Linked DNA regions of Homo sapiens: regions 1, 2, 3, 4, 5 and 6 are each linked to region 7. Evidence: promoter capture Hi-C in 16 types of primary human blood cells and fetal thymus (Javierre and others, 2016). All regions are on one chromosome and are shown on one strand. The core of a region is centred on a gene start or on the middle of the fragment in contact, and the rest is flanking DNA. Distances in the headings are between cores, read along the strand shown.

The links. The method cuts DNA at HindIII sites, captures the fragments that hold promoters and counts their contacts. A CHiCAGO score of 5 or more calls a contact.
Region 1: a fragment that was not itself captured here is called in contact with the fragment with the promoter of MAMLD1 in region 7 in 3 of 17 cell types (M0 macrophages, M1 macrophages and M2 macrophages); the score reaches 7.4 in M0 macrophages.
Region 2: a fragment that was not itself captured here is called in contact with the fragment with the promoter of MAMLD1 in region 7 in 2 of 17 cell types (M0 macrophages and M1 macrophages); the score reaches 6.4 in M0 macrophages.
Region 3: a contact is called between a fragment that was not itself captured here and the fragment with the promoter of MAMLD1 in region 7, in 3 of 17 cell types (M0 macrophages, endothelial precursors and M2 macrophages). The highest score is 6.9, in M0 macrophages.
Region 4: a contact is called between a fragment that was not itself captured here and the fragment with the promoter of MAMLD1 in region 7, in 7 of 17 cell types (M1 macrophages, M0 macrophages, megakaryocytes and 4 more). The highest score is 15.8, in M1 macrophages.
Region 5: a contact is called between a fragment that was not itself captured here and the fragment with the promoter of MAMLD1 in region 7, in 2 of 17 cell types (M1 macrophages and M0 macrophages). The highest score is 7.9, in M1 macrophages.
Region 6: a contact is called between a fragment that was not itself captured here and the fragment with the promoter of MAMLD1 in region 7, in 1 of 17 cell types (M0 macrophages). The highest score is 5.0, in M0 macrophages.

The regions. Positions count from the first base shown.
Region 1 is chrX:150,006,324-150,009,023 of GRCh38, forward strand. All of the region lies in intron 9 of EOLA2-DT (EOLA2 divergent transcript), which reads left to right. Among named protein-coding and RNA genes, the nearest start is that of EOLA2-DT, 69 kb to the left of the region's middle. The HindIII fragment of the contact is 769 bases long and covers 948-1,716 here.
Region 2 is chrX:150,071,509-150,074,208 of GRCh38, forward strand. No RefSeq gene overlaps it. Among named protein-coding and RNA genes, the nearest start is that of EOLA2-DT, 130 kb to the left of the region's middle. The HindIII fragment of the contact is 1,293 bases long and covers 753-2,045 here.
Region 3 is chrX:149,988,546-149,991,514 of GRCh38, forward strand. All of the region lies in intron 9 of EOLA2-DT (EOLA2 divergent transcript), which reads left to right. Among named protein-coding and RNA genes, the nearest start is that of EOLA2-DT, 51 kb to the left of the region's middle. The HindIII fragment of the contact is 2,699 bases long and covers 1-2,669 here.
Region 4 is chrX:149,971,580-149,974,279 of GRCh38, forward strand. All of the region lies in intron 9 of EOLA2-DT (EOLA2 divergent transcript), which reads left to right. Among named protein-coding and RNA genes, the nearest start is that of EOLA2-DT, 34 kb to the left of the region's middle. The HindIII fragment of the contact is 3,804 bases long and covers 1-2,700 here.
Region 5 is chrX:150,049,533-150,052,232 of GRCh38, forward strand. No RefSeq gene overlaps it. Among named protein-coding and RNA genes, the nearest start is that of EOLA2-DT, 110 kb to the left of the region's middle. The HindIII fragment of the contact is 1,756 bases long and covers 477-2,232 here.
Region 6 is chrX:150,029,419-150,032,294 of GRCh38, forward strand. No RefSeq gene overlaps it. Among named protein-coding and RNA genes, the nearest start is that of EOLA2-DT, 92 kb to the left of the region's middle. The HindIII fragment of the contact is 9,213 bases long and covers 1-2,876 here.
Region 7 is chrX:150,361,921-150,364,620 of GRCh38, forward strand. It overlaps MAMLD1 (mastermind like domain containing 1), which reads left to right and starts at 1,397. Exons shown (of 8, transcript NM_005491.5): 1 at 1,397-1,610. The HindIII fragment of the contact is 7,703 bases long and covers 1-2,700 here.

The sequences.
Region 1 (2,700 bases), core at 82-2,581, 360 kb before region 7:
TGTGCTTGTCCACTGCCAGAATTCTCTGGGATCACTCATCTGCCTATCCATGGAGATATTTGTCTAAGGCTTCTGTCCAAGACTCCACAATGTCTCATAGCCTACTAGCCAGCATAGCCTTTTGTTGCTTACTGTTGATCCTCAGTGAGGCTGCTGGCCTGCCTTGCCTGGACCTCTGCCTGCTGCTTATTACCAGACCCTCTTAAGGTGTGCTTCATCTGCTCTGTGGGGACATTGCCCTCTAACTCATGTCTGGGCCTACACAACACAGATTATTAGTCTCTACTTCTCATCTCTTATTGGAGACCCTAACCTCAAAGCCATAATGGGCCTGCCTAGTCTCTATGTTTTAGATTTCCCCAGGCTGGTCTATTCTAGTCCCAGCCAAGTTTCAGTTATAACTTGTGAAGACTATATGGGCAGTCCTTGGGCCAGGTTGCCCTGCCTGGGCCAGGTTTGTGGGCCCATCCCTTGAGATGAAAGCTACTGTGTCTAGTTTCTCAGTCACTATGCACCAGTTAATGAACAACCTTGTAAAACTTTGCTTTTGATGACCTTGTAGGCTAATTTCAAGTTAATATTCTGAGATGGATGATGAAGGAGAATTTTTGTGTCTTTGTAGCCTACAGTAGGTAGAGGGATGCTGTTGGGAATTTTTGAGCCACCCTGAGAAAATTAGGTGAAGGTGAGAAATGCCTGTGTGATCATTTTGGAAGCTAAGTTGCATATGAATCTAAGGTGGCATTGTTAGTAGTAGTAGTACTTAGTCTAGTAGTATTCAGCTCCTTGCCAAGGTGCTTCTGGCTTAATGAAATGACCCAGAGCTTCAGCTCCATAGCAGGGTCACGTGTATTGGCTAGCTACATGTCCTTGTGTTGAGGACTTACACTTTTTGAACCTCAATTTTCTTACATGTCAAGTGAGGTTTTGTGGATGATATCTTTATAAGCTTTCAGACAATGTCAAGGAATACCGGTTAGTGGGTAGTGTATGTGAAAGTGTTTTAAGAACTGTAATGCATCATACAGGTTATCTAGTCTTCCTTCCCAGATGGATGGAGTTTACAGACATGGGACTTCTTTCCCAGCATTGGTGGACAGAGAAGATTTGGATCAACATCCTGAGGTCAGAGTGAAGGCAAACAGCTTGACATGGAGCTAGATGAGACCAGCGAGACAGTACACAAAGCCAAGTACTTCGGGGCCAGCAGAGCTAATGCATGAGGAAGTTTGAAGGAGAGGAATTTCCTGAGTGGAGAGGAATTTCCTGACCTAGAGTACAGGGGCTACTGGCTTCTTTTTGTTTGGTGCCTGCTGTTGCTTGTCTGGTAGCTTAGACTCAAGTTATTCTGGAAGCAGTTAAAGGGTAGAAGAAGAGCAGACCTAATGTGTGGGACTATTCTTATAAGGTATGACAGGATTTAGGGACCAGGCAAAGGGTGCAAAGCCAGTATCAGCTAGTCCAAGGTAAACCCAGTTCAAAGGAGAAGAGTAAATGACCTAAGTGAGCAGCAAAGGCAGACCATATTTGGACACTAATAATGGTGAATTTTATGTGTCAACTTGACTAGCTTATGGTGCCCAGTTGTTTGGTCAAATACTAGTCTAGATATTGCTGTTTAGGGATTTTTTTAGATGAGATTAACATTTAAATCAGCAAACTTTGAGTAAAGCATTACCCTCCATAATGTGGGTGGGCCTCATCCAATTCATTGAAAGCTTTGAGATTAAAAAAAAAAAATGTGGTTTCCCAAAGAAGAAAACATTTGGCCTCAAAACCGTAACATGGAAACCCTGCCTGAGTTTCTAGGCTGCTTGACCAGCCATGCAAATTTTGGATTCCAGACTGTAACATCACTTCTTACCCGGGTTTCTAGCCTGTCTGCATGTGCAGACTTACCATCTCCCACAATCATCTGAACTAGTTCCTTAAAATCTCTAACACCTGAAAGGAACAGGACTCCACAAAGACCAACCTCTCTGACAGTCCTGCTGAAATAGTAAAACGATCAAGCATAGAGTTTTTGTGCTAAACATTCCAGGGGTGCTTATTTATTGAGGAACAGTGTTTCTAATCTTCAAGAAATTTTATTCCCTGAGAAATTTCCCCATTTATTTTAATTTGCTTGTGCAGTCTTTTAAGTGGGTTATATTACTTTGTACATGGATCGCTTTGCTGTGCTTTTATATGAAAATCATTATTAGTAGTCAACATAAGATACAAAGTGTACTGCTTCTATAAAGCTTATCTTACAGCATATATATAGCCTGCTGAAAATATATTGCTCATTTGTTATTAAAAATCCTACCCAAGTAAAAAAAAAAAAAAATCTCTCTCTCTCCCTCTCTCTCTCTCTCCATACGCAGACACACACACACACCCCCATGCACGCACGCGTGCATGCACTATGGTTGGAATGTTGTTTGTCCCCTTCAAAATTCATGTTGAAATTTGATTGCCATTGTGACAATATTTAGGAAGTGGGGCCTTTGAGAGGTGATTGGATCGACAGGGCTCTGCCCTCATGAGTGGATTAATGCTGTTGAGTAGGAGTGAGTATGTTATAAAAGGGCAAGTTTGGCCCCCTTTTGCTCTCTCCCTCTCAGCTCTTTTGCTCTTCTGCCATGTGAGGAATAGTGTTTCTCCCTCTGGAGGATGTAGCATTCAAGAAGCCGTCTTGGAAGTGGAGACAGCTTTGAC
Region 2 (2,700 bases), core at 149-2,648, 290 kb before region 7:
TCCACCCCTACTGGGGGGTGCCTCCCAGTTAGGCTACTCAGGGGTCAGGGACCCACTTGAGGAGGCAGTCTGTCCATTCTCAGATCTCAAGCTGCATGCTGGGAGAATCACTACTCGATGCTCAAATTTTTAAAACCTTTTTATTTTGAGATAATTTTAGGTTTTCGAAAAAGTTGCAAAAACACTGCAGAGAACTAACTGCAGCACACCCATAAGCCAGCTTACCCGATGTCAACCTCTGCATAACCATGGTACAGTTCTCAAAATTAAGAAATTAACCTTGGTACAATACTATTAACTAAACTATAGACTTTATTTAGATTTTACCAGTTTTTCCACTGATGTCTTTTTTCCATTTTAGATCCAATCCAGCATATCCCTTTGCATTTAGTCATCATATCTCCTTAAGTATCCTCCAGTCTATGATACTTGATCAAAACAGCACCCATCAGTTATTTTGTAGAATGTGCCTCAAATTTGATTTGGTCTGATTTTTTTCTCGTGATTAGATTGAAGTTATACATTATTGGGAAGGCCACCACAGAGGTGATGTGCCTTTCTCACTCTGTTGTATCAGGGGATACATGATATTCATATGTATTACTGGGTATGTTAACCTTAATCACCTGGCTAAAGTGATTTCTACCAGGATTCCCTACCAGCAACTTATAATTCCCTCTTCCCCACCTTGTTAATTACTAAATATTTTAGGAAAAATACTTTGAGAATACGCAAACATCCTATTCTGCTTAAGCTTTTGCTCACTCATTATCACATCCATTGATAGATTCCTCCTGTGGCATTTATCACTGTGGTGTTCTAATGGTGATATTGCTTCCTTCATCCCTCCTACATCTATTTAATTGGAATTTTTCTCTCTCATTCACTTATTCATTCGATTATTTATATCAGAATGAATTCATAAATTTTATTTTATGCTTTAACGTATAATCTAATACTCTCAATATTTATTGCTCGTTGCTCAAATTGCTGCAATTTTGACCATTGGGAACTTTCTCAGGTTGGCTCCTGTGTCCTTTCAATATGCCCCTGTTATTTTTTTTTTAAGGCTGCCTAACTTTTATTTAAAAGGGGGTGTGTTTCTGGGTTGCTACAATATTGAAAGTTTGGTTTTCAACCAAGGGCAATTTTGCCTGATCTCTCAGGGTAAATTTAGCAATAAGTGGAGATATTTTTGGTTGTCATAACTGCCAAGCATCCTACAGTGCATAGTACAGCCTCCCACAGCAAAGAATTTTCCTGTCCAAAATGTCAGTAGTGCTGAGGTTGAGAAGCTCTGGTCTAGAGCATTATTTTCTTGATGCTCAGATGTATGGTAGCAAAACCAAATATTGTGAGGAATAAAAATGCTTTTTAAAAGTATATTTTTAAAGTATTAAACATTTTGTGCTTGGAAGAATATTTAAAAAGTAATATAATAGGAGACTTTCTCTTCCATCCATGATAGAATATCAGGGACTAATTACCTTCCATCTTAAACAACTAGAAAACCAGAGAGAAAATATGAAATAATGGCTTTTAGACATTGGACAACAGGCAGTACAAAAGTACAAGATGGTGATTCCTGACAGAGAGAATACAAGTAAGGTGAGCCCTATGATTTTCGTAGCTTATTGCCTGGAGTAATTTTCTAGGCTGCAGCAGAGAAAGAGAGGACCAAAACCAATCCTAGAGCTCTTGATCAGTAAGGCAGACAAAGATTAGAGTCCAGGGAGACCACGAAGGCTGGAAATTGCAGGGAGCAAGATTTGTATAGAGAAAGCTCCAGAGATGTGCAGAGGGTCCCCTCTAGTCTTTGGCTGAATTCTGACCTGCAGCTCATGTATGAGGAAAAAAAAATCTACCCTTGGGCAGTGATAGACCATGAGAAAACAATAGACTGAAAAATTAACAGGGCTCACACAGGTCTGGGAATAGACCTGTAATACCTGGAGTAGGAACTACAATGTTCCAAAGGATATTGTCTTAGTAGTAGGGCTTAGTTATTTGTAGACTAAAGGCTGCTATGGACCTGCCTTGAACAAAGCTTAAAAGTAAGCCTTGAAAGAATCAGATACCATATAAGTTGACTGCATCCCAGAACAAAACCCACCAATATTTAAAGGAATGCAACAAAATCCACCACCCAACTGTGTAAAATCCACTTTGTACAGCACCCAAGAAAACATTATTGGCCATGCAAAAAAAAAAACCTGTGGAATATGATTCTTAACCAGGATAGATGACAATCAATAAAAATAGACTTTGAAATGACAGAGATGATGGCATTAGCAGACAAGAAAGTTAAAACAGCTTTTATAAATATGCTCTATATGATTATGAAGGTGGAGAAAACATGGATATGGCTAAGAGAAAAATGGAAGATATAAAAAAGCCAAAATCAAACTAGTAGAGATGACAGATACAATATATGAAATGAAAAATGTACTGGATGAGATTAACAGTGTAGAAACTGCAGCAGATTAGTCAACTTGAAGTCATAGCAATAAAAATTACTCAAAATGATGAACAGACAGAAAAGACTGAAAAAAAAGAACATAACATGAGTGACGTGGGGCAACATAAAGGGATCTAGCATGCATAATTGGAGCAGCAGGAGGGGGAGAGGGCAGAAAAATATTTGAAAAGTAAGGCTGGGAAATGTTTAAATTTTATGAAAACTAAATATTCTTTTATCCA
Region 3 (2,969 bases), core at 70-2,569, 370 kb before region 7:
AATAATCCTTCCACAGGTAAAATTATATTTTTGCCAAAGGAAATAAATAGCTGTGTTGCGTATAAAATTATGAATTGGTTTTTCGCAGAATTTTGAAGGCATTGCTCCATTGTCTCCTCGTTTTCAGTGTTGTTATTTAAAAGGCTGATGCCAATCTAGTTCTGGTATAAGAGTCTTCCGTATAAGCATTGTTTTTTTCCTTTGCTCTGAAACCTTTTAGGTTCTTTTTTTTTTTAGCCCTTATAATTCAGACATGTTTTGACAGTGTGACTTGGTATAGATCTTTATGCATTCATTTTACTGATCCTTCCTTAGGAGCTTTAAATGTGGAAATTTATGTCCTTATTTTTCTTACATTATGACTTTGATAATTTTCTCCCCTTCGTTTTTTCTTTCTGAAATTTCAATTATTTGGATATTAGACCTCCCATATTGTTCCTCTGCTTTTCTTGTCTTTTCCTCTCTTGGTCTTTATGTTCTTCTTTTTGGGAGATTTTCTTATTTTAATCCTTTTACTTTTTTGCAGTTTGATTATCATATTTTCAGTGTCCTTAAATTCCTTTGTTTTCTGTGTCTTCCTTTTTGTAGTATCCTGCTTATGCTTATGGATATAAATTTTCTCTTATCTCTGAGGATATTAATTATAGTTTTAAGTTTTCTTCTGTTATTGTATCATCTCTGTTTTCTCTGTTTGTTTGTTTTGACTTCTCTCATATTGGAAGAGTTCCTCAAATGTTTTGTGATCCTTGGCTGTCTATTCATATTGAAGAGTGGAACTCTCTTGTTTCCTGGGGGCAAAGGGAGAGGATAAAATAGTTATCTAGGTAGCTGCATGCTGAAAAGTATATATGGGAGCCTGCTGCTCCCTATACAGAGTTTTAATTCCTGTTTTCCTGTGTCTTATCCCAATTTCTGTGGTACTTGGTATTTCTAAACCCTTAAGCCTTCCCAGGATTCAATGGGGACTAATTGTTTCACTTTTCATTGGCATGTCTTTCTGCAAGCACTTAGGTTCTAACTTGCTTTTCCTTTACTCTCTGAAATAAATATTCGTTCTTCCCATCATTTCCTGTCTTCGAAACATTTATGGATAATTCTTGTCCACTAATGTCTCCTTCCCTGTTTTCTTAGTCTGCGTGGACTTAACACCTCTTTCTCTCTGTCTTTCTCTTCTCTCTCTCTCTCTCTCTCTCACACACACACACACACACACACACACACTTTTTATTTGCATTGTTTTAATTCCATTAATGAGACTTCGGGAGGGAGAGAGATAATCATGTGTTATCAGTCTGCCATGTTTAACCAGAAGTCAAGCTGTGGTAGAATTTTTTAAATGTAGTTTTCTTTACCTCATGCTAAACTGAGCATGGCCTTAAAATCTACCCCTGTTCTTTGAAATAAAACTAGCCTTATACTTGGATAGATGACATGCTTTCACCACCAAATTTTAAAGACAAAACTTGAATGTTGATGGAAATTAAAATGTGTTTAGCACTTTCTGACACTATGCATGGTAAATAAATAAATGAATGAATCAGTGAAAAGAAAGGAAAGTCACCATAATGGATACTCTTGAGTTTCCCACTCCAGCTGCACTCTCTACCCTTCCTTACCCTGCTCTGGGCCCCTGGAGACTGACTTCTATGGGCTGCATCAACCAGGCTCCCTTGTCCTCTGGCTTCCAGTTAGGTTTGACAATGCAACGTATCAGTGGGGGAGGGAGAAAGGATCAGAGGGTTGAGAGGAAAGCCAGATCTCAGTATTTACTTCTCCAGCTTCTTCTCTGCCAGGTCACATTTGGCAGTGGCTGTGTTCCACTATTTCATGCCATAGCTTGTGTTGGGTTGTCCCTCTCTGACAGCCTCAGCTTTTACCAGGTTCTGGTAACCATTACTCTCCTTCTCACTTCAGGTCGAGAGATGGTAGTGGTTTCTTCCTGCTACTGATCCAGGACCAATGCACCTTACCTTATAGGTTCCCTTAACCCTGCCCCTACCTTCAGTTACACCTTTTGAATGTGCTGTGTTTCCTGCCAAGACCCTGCTTGATACAAATGTTATGGTAGCACTGTCTCATTATCATCCATGTATTCTTGAACAACATACTCCACATCATGGGCCTCAGTTTCCATATCTGAAAAGTACTAAGGTGGCGATAGGTGGTCTGGTCTGTCATGTAAGAACTCCTTCCTGTTCTGACATCTCTGGTTTTATATGATGCAGCAGTGGTCAGTAGCCAGCTCTAGCTCTAAGTTCTCTTTTATAGACTTTGTGGACCATTGTGGATAATTCTGAGTGGTGGATGATCACAAAACAATTTCTTCCTGTCTTTGGGAGGCAGTTTGCTGGAGCAAAAGGATTATAGACTTTGGAGTCAGACCAGGGTTCAAATTTGAGTGTACTACTTTCTTACTATATGACCTTTAATCCATTACTAAACCTCTCTAAGTCTCACATTCTTCATCTTAAGATTAGGGTATATGATGGACACTGCTAGTTATCTATCCTAGCCGTTTTCTTTTCCCTTGCTAAAAGAATACTATTTTCCATTACATATGTAGCTGAACATTTAGTTGGATGTTTTGATAAATGCAGTTTGCATAGACATAACTAGTATTTACTACCATCTGATTCTCTCCTTCTGAAAGCATGAAAGACTAATTTCCAAGCTTCCTATAGTTAGGTGGGATCATATGATTAGGTCTGGCCAATGAGCTGTGAGGGAAAATTACCTGTGACACTTTGGGGCTGAAGTAGAAAAAAGCAAGTGTGCAATCTCTGTGTGCTCTCTTACCCCTGCTGAGGCAATGGGGAACAATCTCCATGGTGGAACTTCCATCAATCAAGGGTCCCTAAGTGACTATATGGAACATAGACACTCATAAACTTGCAGGCAACATGTAGCATGAGTGAGAAGTAAACCATTGTTGTGTTAGGCCATTGGGGTTTTGTGGTTGATTTGTCAGC
Region 4 (2,700 bases), core at 77-2,576, 390 kb before region 7:
AAATTCAACTCTACAGTTAGCCAAGTATGGAGCCTACACTTGAAATTAGATCCATTTCAGGTGAACATTTACTAAGCATCTACTAAGTGACAGGTACTTATCAGTGATGAATAAACATGTTCCTTGGTTTTGAGAGCTTATAGGCTTGTCAGAATATGAGCAAATAATTTCAACACAATATGCTAAGTGTCATGATAGAGAACTTTGTGTGATGCCGTGGAGTCATACGGAGGGGCACCTAATCCAGTCTGATAATGTTGTGAAAGACTACCTGAAGAAGTGACACCTCAGTTAAGTTTTGAAGGTTCATTGGAGATTGGCCAAGGGTAAAGATATTCTAGGCTGAGAGATCAGCCCCAGTCAGGGCACAGAGGTGCAAACCAGTATGGTATGTTTTTAGGATTGCTGGAGTATTCCTTGCCAAGGGGAAAATGGCAGAAATGATGACTTAGAGAGGTAGGTGAGATTCAGATCATTGAGTACGTAGACTTTGCTTTGTACACCATTAGTTACTACACATTGCTGAATTATTGAAATCATCTGGGGAACAGGCATTTTCTTAGTTAGCTAGATTTGAGAGTCACATGTGGAGGCAATGAGTGACATAGACTGCCCTGTTGCATCACTCTGGTGACAGTCTACATGGAGGCAGGTAGATTTGAAAGGGATGCTACTAGACGCCTAGAGACCATTTTGAAGGTCACTGAATTCATCTAAGAGATATGGTGGACTGTATAAGGCAGTAGCAGTGAGGACAGAGAGGAAGAGGCAGATGCAAAATGGTGAAACTCTTACGATGTTGTGGGGAGGATTGGTGAGGGAGAGAAAAGTGTCTAAGGTAATTCTCCAGGTTTCTGGCATGGCTGTCTGAGTAGATGGTGGTATTTTTGACCAAGTTCAGGAATGAACAGTGGAGATAGAATGTACAAAAAAATTGGATAAATTCAGCTTGGAACCTGCTGAATTTGAGGTACTGTGGGACTTCCAGAGGGGAGAGCAGCTATTTTGTTCTGGAACTCAGGATGTGTCTAGGCTGGAAATACAGGTCAAGGCCTCTATGTCTGGGCAGTTTAAACCCAAGTGAATAGTAAGACATCTCTCAGAGAGAATGTGTGGAGAGTGCATCTTCAATAATTCTACCCCCTTTCGACTTCAAAGGCTGTTCCCATGGGGAAGCAGAAGCAGCGTATTTCTCTCTCTCTCTTTTTAATGTTTGAGGCAACAAGGGATACTGAAAATGCTATAAAAGGTGGAGTTAGAAAACCTGAGTTCAAGCCCTGCTTCTGACACTTCACCACTCTGCAACCGTCAGTAGTTCCTGAGCCTCTCTTAGCCTCCAGGTCTTCATCTGTGAAACAAGGGTAGTAGGAATAACTGCTTCACAGGATTATTAAGATAGTCCAATGAGAATGTGTATGTGGAAAGTGCTGTGTAAAGAACCATAGAAACATCATTTTTGTTGTTGTTGTTGTTTGTTTGTTTGTTTTGTTTTTTTCCCCTAGAAACTTGGACCAATATGTAGGAATTACGGGGAGACAGATTTGGTCCAATATAAGGAAAGACTAATACTTTGACTGTTGGATGATGGGAAGAGCTTTGGGAGATGGGAAGCTCTGAGGCTCTGGATATCCTTAAGCAAAAGCCAGGTTTCTGGGCATATGCTGAGCGTTTTGTTGTCAGGGGTTGGGTCATCCTGCATGACCTCTGAGTTACCTTTCAGGCTCAGATAGAATTTGAGTTACTAGAACACTTATCTACCTATTTTCTGAAATTTTCTACACTAAGTAGATTTTTTAAATTGTAAAAGCAATACAAGCGCATGGTCTTTCCCTTTGACTCTCTTAAAGTACTGGGCATTTTGGATCCTAAGTGGAGACTTGGTTTATATACCCTGAATAATGGGGCAAACTGCCTCATGTCTTACTGCATGAGGCATTTATGGACAGACATTTTCTTAATGTTCTTTAATGAGATCTCTTTAAAATAATAATTTTTTTCTTATTTTCAAGCAGAAATGATATTATAAAAAGCTAACAAAATATTGCCAAGTAGAGGTCTTGATCGAGTATACTCCAATGAGTAGGTAAAGGTCATTTGAAATCAGCACACTAATTATTTATATGCAAATGAATTTGTTAGAGAGCTTGGAAAGAGTTGTTCTCTGAACTGGGTTAAACATCCCCTAAGAGCTCATGTTTATACTCTTAATTTACTCAGAAACCTGTTGTTGCTCTTTCTTTTTTTTTTTTTAATTATACTTTAAGTTTTAGGGTACATGTGCACATTGTGCAGGTTAGTTACATATGTATACATGTGCCATGCTGGTGCGCTGCACCCACTAACTCGTCATCTAGCATTAGGTATATCTCCCAATGCTATCCCTCCCCCCTCCCCCAACCCCACCACAGTCCCCAGAGTGTGATATTCCCCTTCCTGTGTCCATGTGATCTCATTGTTCAATTCCCACCTATGAGTGAGAATATGCGGTGTTTGGTTTTTTGTTCTTGCGATAGTTTACTGAGAATGATGGTTTCCAATTTCATCCATGTCCCTACAAAGGACATGAACTCATCATTTCTTATGGCTGCATAGTATTCCATGGTGTATATGTGCCACATTTTCTTAATCCAGTCTATCATTGTTGGACATTTGGGTTGGTTCCAAGTCTTTGCTATTGTGAATAATGCCTCAATAAACATA
Region 5 (2,700 bases), core at 105-2,604, 310 kb before region 7:
AAAAACTTAATATATTAATTCTTTGAGAAGTAATTTTTGTTGGAAAGGAGGAGCTGGTGCATGTCAATTAAGTGGAATTTATTTAAAAGATCTCATAAATATTATTAATCTATCCTAAAACATTATCTTTCTGTACTGCATTGTGCCTTTGTGGAGTTTGAATTCTAAGGACAACATTTTTCATTCTCAAATGAAGCTGACTTCAAGAAAGAACAGCAGACCAAGCAGCAATGCTGGCCTCCTCTGTCTTGCAGAGCACTCTTATAATGAAAGGGCTTGTGGAATTTGGCTCCATTTCCTACAGCCATGGGATAAGGGTTGCATGTAAACAATAATATCCTGTGCTGTTTGGGCCTCATTTAACTGTCTTTATTACTTTAGAAGGAACTGCCAAGTGGTGCTGTTTCTCATAGCTCATGCTTTACATACCAGCGGTATTGTAGGGTCTGCTTCAAAGATGGCACTCCACACCACGAAGCTTGTGGCTGTTGGCACACTTGGTTGTCACCAGGCTTCATGTTGACACATTCCTTCAAGTCACACCAAAGGTGCACTTTCCATGAAGAATGAATCTGGTACACTGAAGGTGGGCCTGTTATTGCAGAAGGCCTTTGCAGTTACCATTTGGGTGTTTTCCTAGAAAGCTATAGCAGCTCTGCACCTAGAATGACTGTGTTTGCTGAATTACAAACAGAGAGGTGATTTTTGCAAAGTAAGCTGTTACATTATTGACAGAGCACTAAGCTGGAGTCAGGAGATCTATGCTGTACTCCCCAGCTGACTAGCTCTTTAGCTCTAGGGGAAACATCCTTGATTTCCCTGGCTTGTTTTCTAACCTTGAAATGATGAGATTATGCTAGATAATCTCTAAATTCCTCTCTGGCCTAAATTTGATCAGGCAAATTAAAACAGTAAACAACAAACAGTGAGTCAAGAAACAGAAGTTCCCAATCCAAGCTCTGCTGCTCAGTAATTGTGACTTGAGACAAGTCATTTAACCATTCAGACTCAGGTCTCCATTGCTGGGGAGACCAAAGTCTTCTCTACCTGCCCCACCTGGTGGTTGTGCCTGTTGAATAGGGAAACATCTTTTTCACTCAACACATACTGAACAATTGCTCTGTGGCACCAGCTTGATAGATAGCGAAGAAGCACAGGTTATTAGATTATCTGTTACTACTACTAATATTAACTACAGTTTAGTGATCACTTTCTATTTCCAGGAATGTACATACAATATTACATTTAGTCTTCATTTTATGGAGGAGGAAATTTGAGGTTCAGAGAGGTTTAATAATTTGTTCAGACTCATGTAGCTCTGCAGAGCTGGAGCTGAGATTTGAACCAGCATTCTTCTGTTCTTTATTTTAATGGTTACAAAATATCTCACCTCTGACAAGGAGCTTGTGTTACTATCATTATTTTTCTGGGCCATAGTGTCTGAATCCCAAGATCTAAAATCTGTTGGGGGGCAGGCAGATGAGGGGACTGATCTGGCTTGGGCTGAAGGAGAGATTCTCTTTACAGACACAGGCTGAGGCAGCACAGCCAGGGTAGTAAAAATACCTGAGGGACAGCCCTCAGGTATTTTTCAAGCCTTTCTCTGGCTTGTAGACTTATTTTCAAGTCTACAAGCCAGAGGAAGTCCAAGTGGATTGCCCAAACTGAGGAACCAAAATCAGCAGTCACTGAGATGACTGGTCAGGTGAGTGCGGAATAAAGCAAGCACTGTGAGTCACAGGAAGGTGAGAGTGCTTTGGTACAGTTTCCAAGGCTTGGCATTGTTTGCAACGAGTTTTGAGTGAAGCTCATGGTATGGTATGTGGTTAGAGCAACCCCTCTAAAAAGCCATGCAGAGGGCAGAAAAAGCCCTCAGTTTTCTCACCAGTAGAAGAAAGGCTCATTGGCTAAATGAGCTCTGAGTGCATCCCTTAGTCAAACATTCTCTTAGCCAGCAGATATGCAGAGCTGGGCTACACCAGGGTTCTGAGCAATAAACAAGTGCTCTTGGTAGGCCATTTTTTCTCTCTTTGGAACGTGACGCTGAGTTTCTGAGATGCTGGGATTCGCTTTTGGTGTGTCAGGAGCTGCACTGGCAGGTCCCCATCCCCCACAAAGCAACCCCTGTTCTGTTGGCCAACACTTCCCAGGGCAGCCCTCCCATCAAGGGAAGTGGGCTTTCTAGCCTTTGGGAGGTTGTACAACTGCACCTAGTTGCCATAGACACAGCCAAGCTTTTTGTATGTCTGCTTCACTCCTCCAAGACTGCTGCTTCTCAGACCATACTGATGATGCTTTCTCCTACTTCCTAGCCTAAAAGAGAATGGTTTGCTTACTTGGTCTTTGGTTTAGAAGTGGCTGTTTGTCCTAACATTGGACTCGTGCACCTGAAATCATGGCCTCAATGGCAGAAGCAGGCCAGTCAGGGAGGAGAGAGGGCTGACCCCTGGTATTGGATATGGCCACTAACCAGGACCCAGGCTTGGGAAAGTGGCATTGTTACAGGCAAAGGCAGACAAGAAGGTGAGAAGAATACTCTCCACGCAGACCTAGGTGCCTCGGTGATATTCTAGAAAATGGTCAGTGCTGAGGAATACAGCATAACCAACATAATAACAATAATTACAATAGCACAAGAAGACACTTGTATGGACACTGGTAAGTATTTAGCATACACTAATTCTTTTGGTCCTCACAACA
Region 6 (2,876 bases), core at 62-2,561, 330 kb before region 7:
TTCCTAGTTTGTGACTCCAGTGACTCTGGTCCAAGCAAGCAAATTGCAGCTATGTCTCTCTGGATGTTCCTGACTCTCTAGATTTCAGGGTGGTGGTTTGCCCTACAACCTCATTTGTCTGAAGGATTCATGAAAAGTCATTGATTTTAAGTTTGTCCAGCTTCTTCTTGTAAGGATGGGAGTGATGATTTCCACGATCTTGTCAGAACTTAAATCAGAGTAATATTCCAAAATTTATATGAAAAGACACAGGTCCTAGAATAACTAGAACAATTTTGAAAAAGAGTAATAAAGTTGGAGGAATCGGTCTACCTAACATTAAGGCTAACTACATAGCTGTGGTAACCAAGACCATGCAGTATTGCCAGATGAGTTAGATATATAGGTCAATGGAACAGAATAGAGAACCCAGAAATAGACCCACATAAATATTCCCAACTGAATTTTAACAAAGATGCAAAGGTGATTCAATGAAGGAAGGATAGACTTTTCAACAAATGGTGCTGTGTTGGAACAACTGGATATTCATAGGCAACACAAACAAAGTTCAACTTAAGCCTTACACCTTATGTAGACATTTACTCAAAATGGATCATGTAAGTTTTTAAAACATAAAACTAAACATATTTTAGAAAACTGGAAAAAATCTTCCAGCTCTAAGGCTAGGCAACAGATTCTTAGACTTGACACCAAAAGCATGATCCATAAAAGGAAAAAGTAATTGGTAAATTGGAACTCATCAAAGTTAAAAACTTTCTGTGGAAGTTTTTATGAAACATCCTTTTAAATATGAAAATACAAGCTATAAACTGGAAGAAAGTATTTGTAAATCATATCCAACAAAGAATATATAAATAACTCTCAAAACTCAATAGAGTAAAAAAAATCCTATTAGAAAATAAGCAACAAACAGCAACAGACATTTCACTGAAGAAGATATACAGATGACAAATAGGCACATGAAAAGTTGTTCAATCAACATCACCATTAAAGAAATATAAGTTAATACCATAATGTGATATTACTATACCTCCATGCATGGATCTTTCCACATTGCTTATGGGTAATAGTATGACCACTCTGGAAAATGGTTTAGTGGTTTCTTACAAAACTAATAATACACCTACTATACTATTCAGCAATCATATTACTGGGTGTGTATCTCAGAGAAATGAAAACATACATCCATACAAAAACCTGTACATGAAATTCGTTCATAGCAGAGCTGTTTTCAATGATCAAAAAACAGAAACAACCCAGGTGTTTGGTTAATAGGTGAATGGTTAAAAAAATTATGGTACATCCATACCATGGAATACTACTCAGTGATTAAAAAAAAAGAATGAACTACTGATATATACAACTTGGATGGATCTCATTGGCATTATGCTGAATGAAAAAAGGCAATCTCAAAAGGTCACTGTTAGGTTCCAGGTAGGTGGGACATGGCTTTATTCAGCAGTTTCTTCACACTGTCGGTGCTGCATTTATGCACCTCACAGACCATAATGGCTCAGAGGCAGGTGATGAGCCCTCCCACGTTATGGCTACATAGCTGTGATTATGTAATGCATGGGATTGTGCGCCTGTGCTCCAATCCCACTGTGTCATACTGTGCAGGATGTGTACCTCAGCCTATACTTGACTGCAGCACAGCCATTGTCCTTACAATCACATACTGTAAGGACAGTATGTGATTCCATTTATATAATAGTCTCAAAAATGATAAAAAGATGGAGAACTGATTGGTGCTGTACAAAGGTTAGCAGTGTTGGTGAGGGGAGTTGTGACTATAAAGAGGTAGCATAAGGAAGATATTTGTGGTGATGGAATAGTTCCATTTCTGGATTGCAGTGGTGGTTACAAGAATACAGACGTGATTAAATGGCATAGAATTACACATATGCTTTGCACCAATGCCAATTTCCTGATGTTGGTATAGTACTATAGTTACATAAGATGTATCCATTAGAAAAAATTGAGTGAGAGTTTCACAGGACCTCTCTGTATTTACAACTTCATCTGATTCTACAATTATATCGATAAAATACTTCTTAAAGTAGCTTACAGTGGAGAAACCTGGCAGAAATCTCCTTAACCAAGGAATCAAGACTAACATCACTGGTAAGTTTATGTTCATATCTTGAACCCCTTATACTGTGTCATAAGAAACGCACTTCACCTCTGTGCTATCCTTCCCCAAAATATATAATCCCAGTCTAATTATGAGAAAACATTACACAAACCCAAATTGGGGGGTATTCTACAAAGTACTTGACCATTTATCTTTAAAATTATTGAGATCATGAAAAACAAGGAAACATTAATAAATTTCCATAGATTGGAAGCAAATAAGATATGATGACTAAATGTGACATAATATTCTGGATTGCATCCTGGAACATGAAAAGGACATTAATGGGAAAACTGGTGAGCTACATTATACAAAATAACTGATCAGTGCTCTTCAAGGTGTCAAGATTATCAAAGACATAAAAGAATGGATGAACTGCCATAGATTGGAGGAGACAATGCAATGTGAAATCCTGAATTTGACCCTGAACAGAAAATGCAATGTAGTGGAGAAACTGGTAAAATGCAGATAAAATCTAGTTTAGTTAATCATATTGTACCAAAGTTCATTTCTTAGTTTTGATAACTCTGATGGTTATAAAAGATGTTGACATGAAGAATGCTGGATGAAGTGTGTGCAGCAACTGTTTGCTGTTTTTGCAACTTTTCTGTAATTTTAAAATTATTTCAAAATAAACTTTTAAAGAAAGCCTCCTGGGAGATTCTAATGTGTAGCCAGAGCTGAGAACCACTGCTACCTCATTCATTTGGTCCTGCCTCATGGGTTTCCACTATACTCTCCT
Region 7 (2,700 bases), core at 147-2,646:
GGCGGGAGCATCGCGTGCCCTGGTCCAGTGGAACGGGAGACTGGCCAGCGAGCCTGGACTCTGAGCTAAGCGTACTGGCGGGCGACGCCGACAGCGTCCGCGCTAAGGGTGGGGGACTGGGAAGTGGGGAGTGGGGCACTCGGCCGGGATGGAGAGAATGCAGTTCACTAACTGCCACCTGAGAGCCCTGGTCCCCGCTGCCGCCACAGCGGGTCTGTTTGGCAGTCAGGGCGCGAGCTGGTGAGCGGATGCGTGGGCGGAGGGACTGGCGCTACCCACCCAGCAGCCACCCACTGCAGGTGAGTGCCCCTCCCAGGGCGAGGGGAGGAGAAGGGCCTGGCCGCTAGCCCTAGGGTCAGGCTCTGGTGAAAATGGGAAGGGGGATGGGGGCTGAATAGGCTACTTTGTGATGAGACTCCCGTCCCTGTGACACTTCAGGGTCCTCTGGGGATCTGTCATTCCTCTTGCAAGCTCTCTTGTTCTCTGGTCCCTCTCCTCCTCTCCTTATTTCCTCCTCTCCTCTCCTCTCCTCTCATCTCCTCTCCTCTCCTCTCCCTTCATCGTGTCTCTACCTCTATCTCCGCCGGTGCCTCTCTCGGTATCTGTCTCTCAGTCTCTGCCTTCTCTGTGTCTCGTACGGTCTCCTGTCTTTCTTGGTCTCTCGGTCCTGAGCGCTCTCTCGCCCTGTCACTGATGACCGCTGGCTTTTGGCTCTCCGTGCTCGCTCTTCGTGTGTCCCGGCCACGCACGGCTCACCAGCTCGTTTTCCCCAGACGCGGAAAGTCTACCTTCGGCGTGCGGGTTTCCCAAGCGCGCCGGGCCCCGCCTGCGGCCCTCCGGCGGGCTCTGTCTGCTGGAGGCGCTCCGCTAACCCTGCTGTCGCCTCTTTCCACCAGCGCACCGCCTAGGCAAGCCAGCTGACGCCGGGGGCACAGACCACCCTCCACTGAGTGCGGAGCAGCCAAGGTGAGTGCACCGATGCCCCTTCCGCCCCTCCGATCCCTCCCCAGCTGCCCTGGTTCGAGCCGACTGGAGAAATGAGGCTGCAACAGCGAAGCCAGCCTGCGGCCGCTTTCTCCTCTAAAGACTGGTGGGAGGGCCCGGGAGGCCCCTCGGGCGGCCGCAGCTCTTTGGCTGCCCGCTGCCCCATCCCGGAGTGGAAACCCTGAGTTTCCAGGCTTCGGGCTGGCGGGGTCGCGGGCAGGGCAGCGCGGCTTCCCCTTTAAGGCCGGAGCCGCTCGTCGCCGTGAGTGTGAGGGTGTGTGAGTGTGCGGCGTGCGTGTCTCCTCCTCCCCGAGTGACACAGCAGTGAGAAATGCCTATCAGTAACTTAAACCCCCGAAACTCCACCTTCCGGGCGCGCGGCGCGGAGCCGGGCGGTGGGAATGGAGCGAGCAGATTGAGGCCGCCACTGCAGCGCCGCCAGCATGAACTTGGCCGCGAGCTGAAGCGGCCGGCGGCGGGCGGGCGCGGGGGCACCGGCCGCTAGCCAGGGGGTGATCTGCAACAGGGCTGGGTTCCTTGGCGGCCGCCTGAGTCCAGGCTGCCCGCGCCGGCGGCCGCCCGCCCCTCGGACACTGCCCCCGCCGCCGCCGGAGCTCTGCAGCACGGTAAGGCTGAGGGCGGGTGCAGGAAGTCTGACTGTTCTGGGGGTTCCGGGGTACACTTGTAGCCCCCAGTTATGGTCCCCATCGCTGAGGATCGGGGTCCCAGGGGTGCTTCGAGTCGGTAGACCCTAAAGTTTGCTCTGAGCACACGGCCCACCTGGCGCTGCGGGCGGCCACCCCCTTCTCGAACCAGCCCGGCTGGGCTGGGCGCAGCTCGAAACGCCGGAGACCACGGCCTTTGGCTCGGCGCCCGTCGGGCGTCTGAAATCCGGCGGGGACAGCCACGTACCGGGGAGGAAAGGTAGAAGGGCGCAAGCTCCTCGGGCTACGCTGGGCTACTGGGAGGCTCCCACTCTGTCCCAGCACCCCCGGGTCGCTTGCAGCCTGGGTGTCACCGGCGACGGTGCCTTCACATGCCAGCTGCCTGAGCCCAGGCCAGTAGGCAGTGGGCGCTGGATGAAGGATTTCCCCACCCCAACGCTGTTTGCCGCCTCTGAGCGAGAGTGTGGAGTGTGCGCGCCGAATCCGCTGCCCTGCACTCCCTCCCCTGCCAACTCCTGGGAAGCGCAGCCCGGAGCTGAGCTGGTGTTCAGGGCAGCCCGGACTGGGTTCCTGCGGAGCAGCCCCGGCGCCCCTGCGTCAGAGTCCGCGCTTCAGGTTCCCCAGCATCCGCGCGACGACAGAGCTGGGCGCCCGGCGCCGGCTAGCGCGGGCGGGAAGCCCCCCGGAGCGCCGCCAAATACTTTTCTCGGCCAGTTGGCTTGGCCAGGCTCCGTCCCAATGCAGTGTGTCCGAAGCCTCCTGGAAAGCTGGAGATGTCGTCTGATTCTGATCCGTGATTAAATTCGGACTGAGCAGACACTAATAGGATTAGCCTGCCAGAAAGCTCGGCCCTGAAGCCATCGGAACCTGTGCAAACACGCGCCTCGGGCTGGAGCATTCACTCCCGCCCCGCCGCGCTTCTGCAGCTGGGTGCGGCTGACCTGGGCACCCGGAGTGTGGGTGTGTGTGAGCGGGCGGGAGCACAGCGTGGCTGGGGGACGTGGGGAGAAGGGGCTGCTTTTGCTGGGGTGGCTTGTCGTTGTTGTTTGGC